Regions from separate parts of the Homo sapiens genome. Here region 1 is linked to region 2. The links are contacts of gene promoters, found by promoter capture Hi-C in blood cells and fetal thymus (Javierre and others, 2016). All regions are on one chromosome and are shown on one strand. Each heading gives the region's core, a stretch centred on a gene start or on the middle of the fragment in contact. The rest is flanking DNA. Distances are from core to core; before and after follow the strand shown. Region 1 overlaps CES1 (carboxylesterase 1). Region 2 holds the start of LPCAT2 (lysophosphatidylcholine acyltransferase 2).

The links. The method cuts DNA at HindIII sites, captures the fragments that hold promoters and counts their contacts. A CHiCAGO score of 5 or more calls a contact.
Region 1: a contact is called between a fragment that was not itself captured here and the fragment with the promoter of LPCAT2 in region 2, in 1 of 17 cell types (monocytes). The highest score is 6.1, in monocytes.

What each region holds. Positions count from the first base shown.
Region 1 is chr16:55,822,324-55,828,601 of GRCh38, reverse strand. It overlaps CES1 (carboxylesterase 1), which reads left to right. Exons shown (of 14, transcript NM_001025195.2): 3 at 2,307-2,451; 4 at 4,919-5,052. Among named protein-coding and RNA genes, the nearest start is that of CES1, 7.6 kb to the left of the region's middle. The HindIII fragment of the contact is 1,450 bases long and covers 935-2,384 here.
Region 2 is chr16:55,505,310-55,511,651 of GRCh38, reverse strand. LPCAT2 (lysophosphatidylcholine acyltransferase 2) reads right to left here and starts at 2,580. Exons shown (of 14, transcript NM_017839.5): 1 at 2,300-2,580. The coding sequence starts at 2,470. It overlaps MMP2 (matrix metallopeptidase 2), which reads right to left. Exons shown (of 13, transcript NM_004530.6): 13 at 4,961-6,313. The coding sequence ends at 6,210. The HindIII fragment of the contact is 4,685 bases long and covers 1,732-6,342 here.

The DNA of each region.
Region 1 (6,278 bases), core at 410-2,909, 320 kb before region 2:
ACACATGTTTATTGAGCACCTGCTGTGTGCCAGGCGTGTTCTGGGTTCTTGGGATCCATTAGTGAAAAAGCAAAGATCCCTAGGTTCCTGGAGCGTGCATTCTAGCAGGGGGAGACAGATAAGAACAATATGCAAATTACTCCGTGGATTATGTGATATGATAGAACAGGAAAAGTGCCTTGGAAACAAAGAAGCAGTTAAGCAGGTGAGGGAGATCAGAAGGAAGGATCCCATGAATTCTGCTGTCTTGAATTTTGACATAGTCGGGGAGAGGAGTGGGCCAGGAGGTGTGTGGGTGGCAAGTGTACTGAGGTGTCCACTCGGCAAGTGCTCAACTCTCAGGTGTGCCTATTCCTGAGGAGAACAATGGAAGGTGTGTCCATTCACCCTGGCCAAGCTGGGAAGAAAAGCCCAAAGGTTCTAATTGGCCTCACCATCACTCCCCAGGGTAGGAAGGACCCTACAGACATCAGAGCAGACCCTGCTCATCTCAGCAGCCAGGTGTTCGGAGGCTTTCCAGCAGCCCACCAGTGGCCGCCTTCTTTTCTTCCCTTTTTTAAAAAATAATGTTTACTGTTTTTATTTTCTGAGTGCAAATGTAATATATACTTATTACAGAAAATTTAGGAAATACAGAGAAAGGAAAGTAAGAAAATTAAGATCACATACAATATTCCACCACCCAGAGAGAACAACTATCAGTATTTTAGATGGTAAAGTATTATGATGTAATATATTGTTTGTATTCCAGTTTTTTTGCCTGTTGATATACTTTCTTTCTTTAAAAGGGAATGCTATATTGAGATAATTTGGATGCCTGCTTTGCTCATTTATAAGTATATCATGAGCATAATTCCATGCCATTAAATAGCACAGCCTGGTATTAAAAGCTGCATTACATTGGGTATTGAACCATAATTAATTTCCCCAAGCTTTTATTTGGGGTCATTAAGTTATATATGATGTTTTTAATAATATAACATCATGAATGTGAAACATTTATGCACATTCATGAATAGTTTAGGATAACTTCTCAGAAATGACATTTCTGAGTCAAAGAGTATATATTTCTTGTTTGATTTCCCTCCCAAAATATTCCAACTACACTCCTCCCATTGACGTATGAACATCTCCATTTGGCAGACTCTTGGCAATGCTTGGGATTATTAAAAATATTTTTGGCTATTGTATAGGCAAAATAATAATAACAATACCAGCAATATTATTTTCCTCTTTAATTTGCATTTATCTGAAGACCAGTGAGTTCTTTTTTCCTTTCTTCACATTGGAATGTATTATTATTATTATTATTATTATTATTATTGTTATTCCTCTTGCACTTGGTGATCTTAGGAAAATTTCCCAGGATGGAATCAAGAAGTCATCTTTGCTGGCTCTGATTCTGTCACTTGAGAGCTGTGTCATCCCAGAGTCTGAGTGCCTCAGTTTCCTCATGTACCTAGTGGGGGCGGTGATGACTGCCTTTTGGTACATTGAGGTCTGGGACTGTTGCTTATAATATACTTGTGTATAAGCACCACATGGCATGGATCTACCTGGCTATGTAACCTTGGTCAGGTTCTCTAACCTGCCTAGGCTTCAGTTTTCTCATCTGTAAAATGGAGATAATAGAACCTACCTAATGGGACTAGTCTGAGGCTTAAATGAGTTAATATACAAAAGGTACTTAAAACAGTGCCTGGAACACTGGGAGAACTAAATAACTATTACCAGTGTTCATCTATGTTGCATCCTTGAGATCTTTCATCAGGGCAACACAACAGCAACTGCCTGGGAGAGGCAGGTGGTAGAATCTTGGCATGTCAGGGCTGCAAGACTCATGTAGAAATCACTCCGCTCACTTAGACCTGGCGGATTGGGACGCAGAGTGTAAAAGGAATTCACCCAAGGTCACCCCATAAATGCATGGGAGAGACAAAACTAGAGCACAATTCTCCTGATGTTGTCCCACAAAGATATCACCCCTGAGCTATTGTGAGAAATGTCACCTCCCAGGGAGGATCAGTGTATTAGTGGTCTCCCCTCCTTGATGCTGGGAGTTCCAAAGGCTCTGGAAAGGGAAGAGGTGTGAAGCCCTTCTCACTCTGCTTGGTCTTAGGAGACCTTAGTGAGTCCCAGCGCCCCCACCTGAAGCCCCTGATAGCCTCCTACCCACTACAATGTCGTGAGTCTGTAACTATCAAGTCCATTTCCAGGCTTAAACCTCCCAGTCCAAGGCGCTGCCGTAGAAAACACCTCGCTTAGATCTGGCTGAACTTCAGGGGTTCTTCTTTCCCCCTCCCCAGGTGCACCCAAGATCCCAAGGCGGGGCAGTTACTCTCAGAGCTATTTACAAACCGAAAGGAGAACATTCCTCTCAAGCTTTCTGAAGACTGTCTTTACCTCAATATTTACACTCCTGCTGACTTGACCAAGAAAAACAGGCTGCCGGTAAGTTGTGGGACCCCCTGGTCAAGGCGTGTCAGTGCCAGTACCCCGCATCTTCTGGGGCAGAATGGAAGGGAGTGAAGGCAGCTTGGGGAGGGAGCTGCACAGGCCAGGATTGTTTCAGAGACCCCAGGGCCTCCACAGGAAACACTGGTTTTCCACACATCAGTTTACCCTCGTGACATAGGCACTCTGGGGGAGTTTGTTTTGCATCTTTAATGAACATCTTAATTGTTCCAAGTTCCCTCATGCTAATAGAAGGATGAGAATGATTACTTTTAGTTACTAGATTAAAAATCTGATACCAAGATTGGGTAAGACATGATTTTCAATGTTAGTGGTGGAAAGAACTTAGAGAAAAGCCAACACCCCAACTCTTCCTTTTCAAATAGAGAAACTGAGGCCCAGACAGGGAAGGGGAGGTCACCCAGTAGGGTAGTTTTGGCTCAAGTCTTCTGATCTTCACATCAGTGCTTTTGACATGGAGTAGGGCATTGAGCTTGTATGTGGCCTTTCTCCAGCACAGCAACATTCATCTGGGGTAACTTTCACTGTCCAGGTACGGATGTTGGGGGCGGAGCCTGGACAATCCCAGAAGCTCTTCCTTTTGCCTTTGGCCAAATAGCTGGGATTTCTTTTTGTACCTAATTTCCCTCCCTAATTGTCTTGGCAAAGGCTGATGACCCAGTGAGTCAGAATTTCCCAAATAAATGAAGGGCAGGACATGGGGCAGCCCGCCAGCTGCAGGTTGGAGGGTGGGGAGGGTCTGCTGGCAAAGGAGGCACCCAGGGTGAAAAAACAAGGGGTGTTGTGTCTAGCCAGTCTCCCAGGGGCACCGTGGCATGGTGCCTAGGAGTGGGGGAGCAGGTCTGCGAACGTGGAACTAGAAGTTGGTCCTACATGTGCTTTGTGAGACACAGGAAGTGAGAGAAAGGTTTACTCATTCATTCATTCATTCATTCATTCATTCATTCATTCTTCTATTGTGTACTCAGTGCCCCATATACACAGTTAGACCTGGGGCTTCAGGGAAAGGAGGAACATGAATCCACTCCACACAGCCCCTGCCTTCAAGGATCTTGCCTTCTGGGCTGTAGAGACATATCCTCCCTTCAGCACTTTATTGCAGGCCAGCCCTCAGGCTCAGTCTTCACACAAAGATGAATGCACACTCAATCCCTCCCCAGGAGGCAGGCAGGGATTAGAGTTGTGGGAGAAACAAGGGCTCTGGGAACCTGGAGTCAGGAGAACCTCCAGGAATGGCCACAGGCTCTAGAACTACACGGTCTGGGTTTAAATCCTGGTTCTGCTTTTGACTAGCTGAGAGACTTGGGAGTTTCTTAACTTCTCTAAGCCTCTGTTTCCTCAAAATGGGAATCATCACATATGATCAGTCAAGGGTGACCACTAAGCGTGATCTCAGTCCCTGGCTAAAAAGGCAGAGGCAGGCTCATACCCCTGCCCTAACAGTGGACTCACTGCACTGTGGCCGGCGCCTGCAGTGTGCTGGGCAGCTCAACATGTGGACTCTGGAGGCAGACTGCCTGGGTTAAAGTCCTGCTGCTACCACTTTTGAGTTGTAGGACCTTGGGCAGGTTAAGTGCCTCCATTTTCCCACCTGGATAATGGGACATTATTAGTACCTACCCAATGTATAGTTTATTTTACTGTGCTTAGAACAGCACTTGGGACATAGTTTATGTTACGAGTTCTTTTATATTTCATGAATAATATTATTACAATATCATTATTTTAGCCACTCTCACTTCTTCCCCACTATGTGGACTTTTAAAATGCAAGAATCATGCATGAGGAATTGTATCCACTCTCATCCTCCAGTATTAGCAGAGTCCCTGGCACATGCTAAGTTCTCGACAGTGTTAGTCCATTGACTGAAGGCATCCTGAAGTGGGTGGGTTTTAGGCTGGGTTCTGCAGGGTGGATAGGATTTGGGGATGCAGAGGCATAAGGAGGCATTTGAGGAAGAGACACCATCACAGGCACGTGTGCTTCTCGAGACAATCATTCATGCACAGAGAAGTTTACTTCACCAAGAGATAGTTAACTGAGATGAAGCTGAGATACAAGGGCTGCCCCATGGGTACGCTGAGTGCATGAATAGTCTAGGCTTGAGGGTGATGGGAGTGTCCTCCCGAAGAGGACATCCTTAGCCTTTGCTATGCCCATGATGATGTTCTCAGCATCAAGAGCCTTTCGGGGAGGAGGCACTGGAGGCTGGGTAGAAAGGAAGGGACAGCCAGGGTATGTGCAGTAGGGTGGTGGCTTGGGTCCCAGTTGGGAGAATTATGCAGGAGAGAGATTGCCTTTTGCAAAGTTGCTGGGAGCTGGTGAACTTTGGATAGCATCCTCCTTCAGTTGTAACCAACAGGTAGGTCACCAAACAAGACATCTTCTGAGTGCTCCCTGGCTCTGTGTCCTGTAACTGGTATGTTGCTTCCTCTCTGCCCAGGTGATGGTGTGGATCCACGGAGGGGGGCTGATGGTGGGTGCGGCATCAACCTATGATGGGCTGGCCCTTGCTGCCCATGAAAACGTGGTGGTGGTGACCATTCAATATCGCCTGGGCATCTGGGGATTCTTCAGGTAAGAAATCGGACTCTCCTCACTGCACTTTGGCCCCCAGAACGAGGATGCTAGGACCCAGCTCTTGTCATGCCAGCCCTCAGGGGAGCTTAGCTAGGTTCCACAGTAAGGCATCCAAGCCCCTTCGTAATTGGACACTACCTACCCTCTCACTACCCAGCCACTCATCCACTTGCCTCTGAGCTTTTGCATGTGCTGTTCCCTCTGCCTGGAATGCTTATTCTATCCGAAGAACACCTCTTCATCCTGCAAGACCCAGCCCCCAGTTACCTCCACTGAAAGACTCATCTCCTCTTCACCTATGTTTCTCCAGCACATTGCTTTTCTCTGTCATGACACTTAGCAGTCAGCCCAGCAGGTGAAGGTTGACACATCTGACTTCTCATGGAAAGGAGGGAAGGGGCAGAGTCACAGAGGGAGCTCAGGGCATGTTGTGGGTGAAGGAATGGGGGCTGCAGATGGTGGGGTGTGGGAGCATCTGACCCCTTCCTGTGGGAGTGTTGGGACCCACTCAGCTCATTTTCTGCTTGAAATTTGGCAAGTGTGGGAAGCAAGGATGGAGTCTTCCCATCAGGTCTCCATGGGGACAGGAGTCAGATCTCCTTCAAGGCGCAACTGCTATGAACCTTTTCTAAGGTTCTCCTCCATCCATGCCAGTCAGGTTTCTTCCTGAACACGCCACTCAGTTGGTCTCATTGCGGTCATCAATGACCTCCCCCTGCTCTCCACCCAACCTCTCAGGACTTCCCAGCAGCAGCAGATGGCCACTCAGCCTCTGTGACATGCTTCCTTCCCAGCCCCTTTCCTGGTCCTCCCTCCTCCCTGTCCACAGGCCTCTCTTGTCTCCCTCTCCCTCCTTACTAATTCCCAGTGATCCCAGGGAGCAGCCAGAGCCCCTGTTTCCAGCCCACCTCACCTTTGAAGCCCACAGGCATCACTCACTCCCTCCTCCCCACCCCTGGCTGTCTAAAGGGTGCCCCACTCTTCCCAGGGACAAGTTGAATCCTTGACTCCCACTGCCCCTCCCCAACAGAGACCCCCTTCTCCTCCCACCACGCCTCCACTCAGCTTCTGCTGCCACATCCTCCCTTGGGCTCAGGAGAAGGCCTTGTGGACAGCCCGGACTGTCTCTTTTCTCACAACCCTCTTGGCTGCGCCTTCAGAATCCACTCAGAGTCCCCTACTTTGCACCTCTTCCCTGGCTCCTAGCCCAGCCAAAGCTCTCT
Region 2 (6,342 bases), core at 1,331-3,830:
TCATCATATTTCCATTTGGTAATATGTCATCTCCATTGGGTGGCCTTCTCTCAGTGTTATTCTCTGGTTTTCCTTCATTACACTTACTAAAACATGAGATTATATATTTTTGTACTTGTTTGTTTAACTATCTTAGTGAAATGTGAGGACAACAGTCCTTAAGCAAGACATTGATCATCATTTAAGATTAAACTTAGTCTAAATTAATCATACTAAGTCATACTTAAATGAAAGTGTGTCCACCTTTTAAACTGGATAATATGGACATTGTTTTTCTACCATGCCTATTCAAATCTTCCCTTTACCCAGATGATTCAAGCCACTGAAACCTCTTGTATCTCTGATCTATATAAATTTAAAAAGTATTTTTAATATCCAGACTTTGTTAAATCCCATTTAATCCAAGTAGTAAATTTTAAGTACAGTATATACTTTGTAGAAAATATATAGGATAACTATCAATATTATCAATATTAAGATCAACAAACAATAACAGATTATTTCACTTAATTGTAGCCCTCCTTTGAGTTATTAATATTCCAATGTAATAGACGAGAAAAGTATAGTTCAGAGAGGTTAAGTGACTTGGCCAAAGTCATACAACTAATAAATGACCAGTTCCTATAACTGACTAGCTATCATTCCATTATACTATAACTCTCAGAGAGTTATTTGGAAGAGATCTTTAAACAGTAACAAACCAGGTGATGGAAAAACTTAATAATTTATTATAGGTGCAATATAAATATTTGTCAACATTCCATGCTGTTTCTTTCCAAAATATGAAGTCAAATAGATGGGCATATTTTCATTTAAGTATGATTTAATTAAATCAGACTAAATTTAATCTTGAACAATGGTCTATGTATTTACAAATGTTTCAGAATGTGAAGACACAAAAAGAATATCTATTAATTTAAAGACATGAGGATCACATTTTTAAACGTTTAATTTCCTCACAAAGCAGTATTACTACATTCTTTATCTTCTTCCTCTCTCACACCCCTCTTCAACCAGACACCCATCTACCATTACTCAAGCCACCACCTGTGTTGTTTAGCTCTGCACTTAACCTTCCCCCACTGTAGAGGACAATGGTCTTAGTGCATACAAGCTGATTGCAAATATTATACTGCTTCAAATCCAAAGTAATGTGTGAGATGGACATGAAAACTTCAAAATTGTTCCCCCACCCCCCCAACCCCCGCAGAACACACGGACAAATGTGGTTAGCAGGGTCTATCTTGTTCTCTGATCACTAACTTCAACAAAGAGGAAGTCCAAAGAGTGCAACTGCCAATGGTAAAAGGAACCCTTTACAAGAAAAAGGAAAGGAAAGGAAACTTCCTTTGTGCATAACAGTATAGCCATTTTTAACAATGGAAAACAGCCTGGGCTACTACTTCTCATGCTTCAACTTAGGAAACGTTTTTAGGTGAAGACTGATTCTGGACCAAAACTTCTTGAACATCCTAAGCTGACTCAGTTGTCCCTTTTCTTTGATTCTGACTTCCCACCCTCCATCATGCTCCTGCTCAGCTAAATCTTTCCAGCCTTACCTGTTGTTCTAACCACAGACCTAGGCTCTCTGCCTTCTGCCTCACTCTTATCCATCCCATACTGACTCCTCTCCTTCCTAAGGCAAAAAAAAAAAAAAAAAGACTTCTTCAAATCTACTCTCCCGTAGTAGATCTGCCTCCCACTACACTCTCATAAACTCAAGTTGAAGCTTCTGTCACAGATTCACAGATTCCTTCAACCTTCTGGGGCATGGAATGTAGCCTGCGCCACCAGCCAGCTCAGTCTCTTCCTGTTTTGGATTCTCCTCTCAGGCCCGCATCTTCCCAGCATCTTCTCTCCTCCCGTGCCCGCTCAGACCATCCTCTAAATGTCCTCAATTCTCAGACACACATCTCCGCCCCTTTCAGGCTCACGGCCCCTCAGAAGTCCTCTCCTCTCAGATCCACTGCTCTTTCTTCCTCTGATGCCTTTGCTTCCCAGACCCACAACGCCCCTCAGACCCACGCGCCCCTCGACCGCCCTCCCCCGTCAGACCTACACCAGTCACCTGGACCCGCCCCAGACCCTGGCTCCCCTCGGGCCACCTCCCTCCTCAGACCCATGCCCCCTTCAGGCCACCTCCCTCCTCAGACTCTCGCCCGCCTCGGACCACCTCACTCCCTCAGACCCACGCCCCCCTCGGCCGCCCTCCTCTCTCAGACCCACACCCCTTACCTGGACCCCCCTCTGACCTAGGCCCCCCTCAGACCACCTCTCCCCTCAGACCCACGCCCCTCACCTGGACCCGCCTCGCGGAGCCGATCTGCGTCTGCTGCACGAAGGGGTTCGGCACCGGCGGCGGGAAGAAGGACGCCTGACGGGGCACCATGGGCGGCCGCAGCCCCACGTTCCCGACGCCGGCACCTGGCACTGTGGCCGCCACTTCCGCCGCCTGGGCGCACCGGCTCATAGTTGAGCCGGGCGTAGAACCCGGCCGAAGCGATCTACGCGGGCGCTGCAGCCAAAACTGAGCCGAAGACCTACTAGAGTCCCAGCCTAGGGCGACGCTGGGGAGCCTCTGCGCAGGCGCTGAAGTTACTTAGACGCCTGCTGCTGCCGCCCTGCCCCTTCGGCTGTGACACGCCCCAGGCTCTGGCCACACCCCCTCAGGCATCTGGCTCCACCCCCTTGGTAATATAGTCCATCCCCTCGGAGGGGAATGTTTTCCTTCCGAGCCAAGACCCTGAAGGGTACCCCAGGATCCCTAACATTCCACAGCGAGACACTAGGCAGAGTTCCCTGCTTTAGGGTCGGACGGACCTGGATTTTCAATCCCTTTTACTGGGCCTGTGACGCTGGCCAAATCACTATCTCTATGAACCTCGGTTGCCTTCCGTAAAATGCAGATAAATGTATTCTCAGATAATCCTAACCTGGATCCAGTAATGCCATTGAGCAACCACTTCCCCTGGGCTGTTCCATTAAGTGAGCTAATATTAATACACCCATGATGGCACTAGGAGTGGAATTTGTTTCACTCAAAACATAATGGACTGACAGGGGAGAGATGGTTCTCCAGAGGAAAACTGAGCTACTATTACCAGAAAAGGCAAAAATTACAGTTGCCCTCCACGCTAGATGAGGAACCTGACCCAGAAAAGGGAAATGTATTGGGCTGTGGCTCCCTTTCACACTGAGGAAGTTCAAGCCTGTTTGGACCTATGTGGGTGCTCGTGGGGGTGGGAGGGCAGGGGTTTGTCCCATTATCTGAGGACAGTTGATCAACCCTGAGTGGCTGAGAGTTAAAGGAAGGAGATGATAATCAACTCATCCCAACTGATCAACTCTTCTCACAGCAGGTAGGAAGGCCAGGATGAAAATCTGAGTCTGAGCCCTGGGGTTCTCCAAAGTTACCCTCTGAATGTCAGAATCTTCCAGCCCTACCACATAGATGTGTGGCCTTGAGTCAGTCACTTAACCTGAGTTTGCTTCCTTGTCTAGGAATGGGAGATTCATTCTAACTCCATAGAATTGTAGCAAGGATTAAATAAAATAATGCATGTGTAGTGTTCATAGAGAAACACTGAAGAAATGGCATGTTTTAAGCATTATTATGTTGTGGAGCCACTGACTTTTCTCTCAGTGTAACAGGGAACATTAATAACAGTGCATTACAGCCATGATAGAAGATTCCCCAGTCTAGGGGGTCTTCAAGTTGGGACTGGCAGACCCTTGAGACTCTTTAGCCAGATACCTGCACAGAAAGATGTCTTTCCAACTGTCAACAACCTAAGCCAGGCCAGGTGCAGTGGCTCACGCCTGTAATCCTAGCACTTTGGGGGCTGAGGAGGGTGGATCCCTTGAGCCCAGGAGTTCGAGACCAGCCTGGGCAACAAAGAGAGACTCCACCATCTCTAAAAAAAATTAAAAATTAGCTGGCTGTGCTGTTGCATGCCTGCAGTCCCAGCTACTCAGGAGGCTGAAGTGGGAGGATTGCTTGAGCCCAGAAGATCAAGTCTGCAGTGAGCTATGATCATGCCATTGCACTCCAGCCTGGGTGACAGAGAAAGACACTGTCTCAAAAAAGAAAAAAAAAGAAGAAGAAGAAACAAAAAGAATCTGAGTCAAGGGGACAGGCCATGGGAGGATAAAAGATAGAAAAGATGGGGCCGAGAGTGGTGGCTCACACCAATAATCCTAGCACTTTGGGAGGCCGAGATGGGTGGATTGCCTGATCTCAGGAGTTCGAGACCAGCCTGGGCAACACGGTGATACCTGTCTCTACCAAAATACAAAACAAATTAGCTGGGTATGGTGGCGTGCACCTGTAATCCCAGCTACTTGGGAGGCTGAGGCAGGAGAATCACTTAAACCTGGGAGGCAGAGGTTACAGTGAGCCGAGATTGCGCCATTGCACTCCAGCCTGGGTGACAGAGTGAGACTCCATCTCAAAAACAGAAAAAAGAGATAGAAACAATGACATCAGGCTCACTGAGGAGGTCACCTGTAGAGTTCACTCCTTACGCACCTTCCTCACCAGCCCCATCATAAGAGGCCAGAAGCAATATATATACTATCAATCAGACTATCGGAGCCAGAAAGGGCCTCAGAAAAACCCCAGGCCTTCAATTTCTGTTCAGCAGTAGCTCCAGAATTTCTATGTAGGAGATTAGGAGTGGGTAGACTGGTAGGAAGGAGTAAGGAGCTTATCCATTAATACCAGCTGTGTTTAGAAGCAAGCACAGTATTTCTCCCTTAGCTGTGTTTACCCAGCGTGGTTTTGGGGGTGGTGGAGGGTAGCAGGAGCGGTTTTGAAGGTGGTGGGGGTGTTTTTGAGGGTGGCGGAGGGTGGTGAGATTCTGGTTTGAGAGCTAAAGCTCCTCTGCTAGGCTATCCTTTGGCCTTGTAGGTCCCTAATAGCTATGGGACCCTGGAAAAATCACTTCTCTTGAGCCATCAGTCTCTTCATCAATAAGATTCAACTAATAATGGCCTTTTTTATTTATGTGGTTGGAAAGGTTAAAATAGGTGACACGTGAAAAGTGCCTTGCACATAGAAAGCACTCTATTAATTGAGGGGGATATTATTGTTACTGTTCATTGTTAGTAGTAGCATTAAAACTGATATGATTGCTAATGAAGAAACAGACTTAAAGAGGAAGCAAACCTCGAACAGATGCCACAATAAAGCAACAAAATTGCTGATTCTTCAGGGCTCTTTCTACAGGACAGAGGGACTAGAGCTTACTCTCCCTGAGGTTCTCTTGCTGTTTACTTTGGAAGCTCTGACCTTTCCAGCAGACACCATCACCTGTGCCCTGCAGGGAGCAGAGATTCGGACTTTTTAAGTTTCCGCTTCTGGCTGGGTCTGTGGCCCTTGTCTAGGCTCTGCTAAAACAGATGGCAAACACGGCCACTCAGTAGGTGTCTTTATTCATACTTGTTGACATTTCCCATGGGGAATGGTTGAAGGGAGGGGCAGGGAGGGCTGAGCGGGAAGCCACGGCTTGGTTTTCCTCCATCCAGTGGAGAAGAGACTCGGTAGGGACATGCTAAGTAGAGTGAACAGGGGAACCATCACTATGTGGGCTGAGATGCACTGTGCAGTGACTTCAGACAACCTGAGTCCTTCTGTCAGGAAATGCAATTTCTAAGTGGAAAAAAAAAACAAGACCCAAAGAAAAAAACAAAGTGCATACAAAGCAAACTGCTAATGTAAGAAAGGTTCTAAGGCAGCCAGCAGTGAAAAGCCAGGGGTCTGGAGTGGCCACCTGGCCATGCCCTGTCCCACTGCCCTGTGCCAGGCTGTCGGGCCACCAGTGCCCTCTTGAGACAGTCTCCATTGGCTCCAAGGGTTCTGTGAGCCACAGAAGGTTGTGAAAGGAGAAGAGCCTGAAGTGTGGCAGCACCAGGGCAGCCCAAAGCAGGGCTGCGTTGAAAATATCAAAGTATCTCTTTAGGGGTGGCTCTGAGGGTTGGTGGGATTGGAGGGGGAAGGGGCGCCTGGGAGGAGTACAGTCAGCATCTATTCTTGGGCACCGGGAGGAGCCACTCTCTGGAATCTTAAATTACCAGGTAGGAGTGAGAATGCTGATTAGCTGTAGAGCTGAAGGCACGGCTGCCAGGCCCCTCCGGGTCCTTCTCTAGTTCTCCAGGCCCGGTGTATCGAAGGCAGTGGAGAGGAAGGGCCTGTGGGAGCCAGGGCCAGCTCAGCAGCCTAGCCAGTCGGATTTGATGCTTCCAAACTTCACGCTCTTCAGACTTTGGTTCTCCAGCTTCAGGTAATAGGCACCCTTGAAGAAGTAGCTGTGACCTGGGATAGAGAAAGAAGAGACCGTGACC